Regions from separate parts of the Homo sapiens genome. Here region 2 is linked to region 1. The links are contacts of gene promoters, found by promoter capture Hi-C in human tissues and cell types (Jung and others, 2019). All regions are on one chromosome and are shown on one strand. Each heading gives the region's core, a stretch centred on a gene start or on the middle of the fragment in contact. The rest is flanking DNA. Distances are from core to core; before and after follow the strand shown. Region 1 holds the start of GPR135 (G protein-coupled receptor 135). Region 2 overlaps KIAA0586.

What was found. The method cuts DNA at HindIII sites, captures the fragments that hold promoters and counts their contacts. A contact is called where the count stands out against the background at its distance.
Region 2: a contact is called between a fragment that was not itself captured here and the fragment with the promoter of GPR135 in region 1, in 2 of the 25 tissues and cell types used here (mesenchymal stem cells and mesendoderm cells).

Annotation. Positions count from the first base shown.
Region 1 is chr14:59,464,081-59,466,782 of GRCh38, reverse strand. GPR135 (G protein-coupled receptor 135) reads left to right here and starts at 1,403. Exons shown (of 1, transcript NM_022571.6): 1 at 1,403-2,702. The coding sequence starts at 1,557. It also overlaps a transcript of L3HYPDH not described here. RefSeq lists a silencer at 1,333-1,872. The HindIII fragment of the contact is 12,129 bases long and covers 1-2,702 here.
Region 2 is chr14:58,460,364-58,463,063 of GRCh38, reverse strand. It overlaps KIAA0586, which reads right to left. Exons shown (of 31, transcript NM_001329943.3): 14 at 1,904-2,078. Among named protein-coding and RNA genes, the nearest start is that of KIAA0586, 34 kb to the right of the region's middle. The HindIII fragment of the contact is 9,444 bases long and covers 1-2,700 here.

The sequences.
Region 1 (2,702 bases), core at 154-2,653:
CCAAAAGTCCATGACGCTTAGGCTGACAAACCCAGTTTTGGTTTGCCACCTTAAACGTTCTTCTATTTATACTGTAAATTTCCTGTAGGATATTTTTTCTGAATGAAATAAGCACTCCAATACTAATACCATTGATTCTAAGATCTACAAATATACTAGTCATTCTTTAGAGCAGTGTTTCTCAAATTTGTGCATCAGAATCACTGGGAGGGCTTGTTAAAACATAGGTGCCTGGGCCCCACCACAGGAGTTTCAGTAGATCAGGGGTATCCTATGCACTGTAGGCCTGATAATTTGTATTTCTCAAGGTTTCCAGGGGATGTTGATGCTGCTGGTCCAATGTCCATACTCTGTGAACCACTGCTTTAGCGAAGAGCCCAGGGTTAGTTAACCTGAGGGTTTATCACACTTTTCCCCATTAGAGGCCATGCCCAGAAACTTGAGATGCAACTTCCCTGGGTAGCCCTGCCTTTCTTTTCCCCGTATCTCCCAGCCAGGTACCTGGAGCTGCATCTGTGGTGATTGCCAGGCTGGCAGCACCTTAGACTCAAAACATACCCCATTCCTGAGAACAGATGAAGGCTGCTAGCAGGGCAAGGCACCAATCCCTCTCCCCCCATTTATCAGCCAGTAGGGGCCTGAGGTCCAGGCCCTTGGAAATGAAGTAACATCTAAAGGAACTATCCTAGCTCCTCAGAGCACCTGTATCAGAATCACCTACGGGGTTTAGAGTCATGGGCCCATCCTTAGTAATTCTGTCAGCCTGGGAATCTGCATTTTATGAAACTCTTGACATCAGTGCTTCTGTAAGTGTGGTCCTGGGACCAGCATCATCATCACCACCCGCGAACCCGTTAGAGATACAAATTCTTGGGTACTTCCCCAGACATATTCGAAACGCTGGGGTTCAGACCTCGTCACTTGTATTTTAACACGCCCTCTATGTGAATTCTGTTAGCTCAAGTTTGAGAATTACTGGTTTAAATTAGTCTGCTTCTCAAGTTTAAGATGTCTGGATGTAGACTTCTGGATTTTTCTTTCACTTCACTTTCTAGATTCCTTTCCTACCTGTATATACCAAAAGCACCCACAGGAAGCAGAGTGCCCCCCCCACCACTCCCCAAAAGGCCTGCCTGTAGAACATTTGTACCCTACAAAAGAGAGCAAGAGTGAACTTTCGTTGAATCTGGTCATTTGTTTGCATGCCAGTCGGCACTTTATCTGGCCGGACATTGGTCCCTCAGGAGGTCGACCTGGCACTCTCGGAAACCCGAACACCCGGGCCGGTAACCTCCGGAGTGGCGGTGTCGCGGGTCGGCTTTGCAGCGGGTACTGGGCTGCCGTCCCGCCCCGCGCTCCTGCGTAAACACGCGGTTCCCTCGGCAACGCTGGAACCCACGTCAAAGGCTCCGCCAGGTCCCCAGCGACCGCCACCCCTCCGGCCGAGCCCAGCTCCCCGCGGCGGCCGCTAGCCCCCGGCCCCGAGCCACCACTCCGACCTAGCGGCCGCCGCCCCCGGTGCGGGATGAGGAGATCCGCGGCCGCCACTGGGCCCCATGGAGGAGCCGCAGCCGCCCCGCCCACCAGCGAGCATGGCCTTACTGGGCAGCCAGCACTCCGGCGCCCCCTCCGCGGCCGGCCCACCTGGCGGGACTTCCTCCGCGGCCACGGCGGCCGTGCTCTCCTTCAGCACCGTGGCGACCGCGGCGCTGGGGAACCTGAGCGACGCAAGCGGAGGCGGCACAGCTGCCGCTCCCGGTGGCGGCGGCCTTGGCGGGTCCGGGGCAGCGCGGGAGGCGGGGGCGGCGGTGAGGCGGCCGCTAGGCCCGGAGGCGGCGCCGCTGCTGTCGCACGGAGCTGCAGTGGCGGCCCAGGCGCTCGTCCTCCTGCTCATCTTCCTGCTGTCTAGCCTTGGCAACTGCGCGGTGATGGGGGTGATTGTGAAGCACCGGCAGCTCCGCACCGTCACCAACGCCTTCATCCTGTCGCTGTCCCTATCGGATCTGCTCACGGCGCTGCTCTGCCTGCCCGCCGCCTTCCTGGACCTCTTCACTCCGCCCGGGGGTTCGGCGCCTGCCGCCGCCGCGGGGCCCTGGCGCGGCTTCTGCGCCGCCAGCCGCTTCTTCAGCTCGTGCTTCGGCATCGTGTCCACGCTCAGCGTGGCGCTCATCTCGTTGGACCGTTACTGCGCTATCGTGCGGCCGCCGCGGGAGAAGATCGGCCGCCGCCGCGCGCTGCAGCTGCTGGCGGGCGCCTGGCTGACGGCCCTGGGCTTCTCCTTGCCCTGGGAGCTGCTCGGGGCGCCCCGGGAACTCGCGGCGGCGCAGAGCTTCCACGGCTGCCTCTACCGGACCTCCCCGGACCCCGCGCAGCTGGGCGCGGCCTTCAGCGTGGGGCTGGTGGTGGCCTGCTACCTGCTGCCCTTCCTGCTCATGTGCTTCTGCCACTACCACATCTGCAAGACGGTGCGCCTGTCGGACGTGCGCGTGCGGCCGGTGAACACCTACGCGCGCGTGCTGCGCTTCTTCAGCGAGGTGCGCACGGCCACCACCGTCCTCATCATGATCGTCTTCGTCATCTGCTGCTGGGGGCCCTACTGCTTCCTGGTGCTGCTGGCCGCCGCCCGGCAGGCCCAGACCATGCAGGCCCCCTCGCTCCTCAGCGTGGTGGCCGTCTGGCTGACCTGGGCCAATGGGGCCATC
Region 2 (2,700 bases), core at 79-2,578, 1.0 Mb after region 1:
TAAGCATAAGTCCTTAGGTTCTGATATGGCTTGGCTCTGTGTCCCTACCCAAATCTCATCTCAAATTGATCCCCATGCGTCACGGGAGAGACCTGGTGGGAGATGACTGGATCATGGGGGCAGTTTCCCCTAATTTGTTCTTGTGATAGTGAATGAGTTCTCATGAGATCTGATGCTTTAAAAGGGCATGGCTTTCTTTGCTCCCTCTCTCCTGCTGCCATATAAGACATGCCTTGCTTCCCTTCGCCATGACTCTAAGTTTTCTGAGGCCTCCCCAGAGATGTGGAGCTGTGAGTCAATTACACCTTCTTGTCTTTATAGATTACTCAGTCTCAGGTAGTTTTTTATAGCAGTGTGAAAATGAACTAATACAGGCTCTTAATCACTTCTGATCATTAAAAGCGTTATTGAATAAAGTTATTTTTGGATTTGAAAGCATTTTAAAGCCTCAAATTATTTTTTGCAAAGACTTTCAAAACCCCCCATATAAATTAATAGCAAAGCTACACTAGGCCGGGCACAGTGGCTCACGCCTGTAATCCCAGCTCTCTGGGAGGCTGAGGCGGGTGGATCACCTGAGGTCAGGAGTTCAAGACGAGCCTGGCCAATGTGGCAAAACCCTGTCTCTACTAAAAATACAAAAAAAAAATTAGCTGGGCATTGTGGCGCATGCCTGTAATCCCAGCTACTCGGGAGGCTGAGGCAGGAGAATCGTTTGAACCCGGGAGGTGGAGGTTGCAGTGAGCCAAGACTGTGCCACTGCACTCCAGCCTGGATGACAGAGCAAGACTCCGTCTCAAAAAAAAAAAAAAAAAAAGCAAAACTACACTAAATAAGAGAAAACTTCAGGGTAAATACCATCCATTAGGATAAATATCACCCATAAGCTATATGCTTTCTATTTTAAATTAGTAAAATTTCTATATAACCTGACACTGTATATGATTGCATAACCTTTAGAAAGCAAAGGGAACCAAAGTAACCACCATAGCTCCAACTTCTAGAAAGGATAAGAGAGGAAAATGGGTTTGTATCTACTAGTTATCACATATTGTCAGCTGTAGCTTACTGATTGCTAAGCAGAAGCTGAGAAACTATAATACATAACCAAAGTCAACAGACTCAGTATATAACCAAAAGTTGTATTTAAATACACAGTACCAGTGAAACAGTAGATGTGACTCAAAATACACAGTGATACATGAAGATGTTTTCAGTTGTGCACAAAAGCAACAAAAAAGTTTTCACCTTTCTACCTAAGTCTCTTTGAAAACCAAACTGCAAAAGTGCTCATCAACACTTTTATAATAAACAGCAAATGGCTGATCTTTCTGTTCATAATGCACCTAGGTCTTCAGGAAAATGTCTACTTTCCTAGATTATAATTTAGATGCTCAAGATTCATCATCACCCACTGTGGGCAATGTGGTGAAACCCTGTCTCTATAAAACATACAAAAAAATTAGCCAGGCGTGGTAGTGTGCACCTGTCATCCCAGCTACTTGGGAGGCTGAGAGGGGAGGATCACTTGAGCCCAGTAGGTCGAGGCTGCAGTGAACCATGATTGTGCCACTGCATTCCAGCCTGGGGGATAGGGTGAGACCTTGTCTAAAAAAAAAATTAAAAAAAAAATCATTTTCTCCTAAATAAAAATTTTATGATGCTTTATCTGAAGATGCCATTTAATCCTACATTTCTTCCCAATTATTCCTATCTTGTGTCTTTTTTAAAATGTTGGTCTATTTCTTCCTACCTCTCCTAAGAGGAATTATTTTTCCATCCCCAAGCATCATATAACTTGAATGGCACGTATAAGCAATAAATAAAAAGCAAAAAGAAACTTTACATATTAAACTGATACTATTAAGAAATGAGATTAAACATTAAAAATGAGATTCCTTACCTTTAACTCGTTCTATTACTTTTGGTCTCTGTGGTCTGGACTTAGGAGATGGAGAATTAAATCTGAGATATGGTCCTTTTTTAAGAGTGCTTCGATGGCCCTGATAAACTGGCTTTCCATAGACTTGTAACATATAATCTTCATCTTGTATTACTGTGGTTGCTTTCAAAAGCCCCTGTGTGTACAAAGTTATTCAACTCACCATGAAAACAGTCATCAAACACTTATCTCATTTTTCTAAAGCCTCCTTTTGCTAGCTTAAGTATTATAACAAGAATGATTAAGTAAAAAATAACCTCTGTTTTCAACAGCCCTTAAATTCTAGATAACAGGTTTCAAGCATTAGTTTGAAAAGCTTTAAATATAAAAATCATCCACCTAAGAAACATGAAAATTTTTACATTACTAAGTATATTTTCAGCACCAACAAGAAACATTTAAACACATTTTACATATTTATTATACTCCAGTACAATAAAAATACAACAACCTTAACCTTTAAATAATTTTATATATTTCTGAACCCACCTTCAACCATAATCTAAATGTCACAGAAAGGGAGCATTTACTGAGAATCTACTAAGTATAAGCATTGAATTAGATGCTTTACTGATCTGCTCAACAATCCATGTTTGGCACTTAGAAACTTATAGCCTAGTTACAGCAGTCAAAAAAATTTCCTCCATACCATCTAGTACCACGCCTTGCATATACTAGGCACTAAACATGCATTTGTTAAACTGAAAAATAAACTATATACACACACGCAAATGAAAATTTTGAGTACCATAAACTAG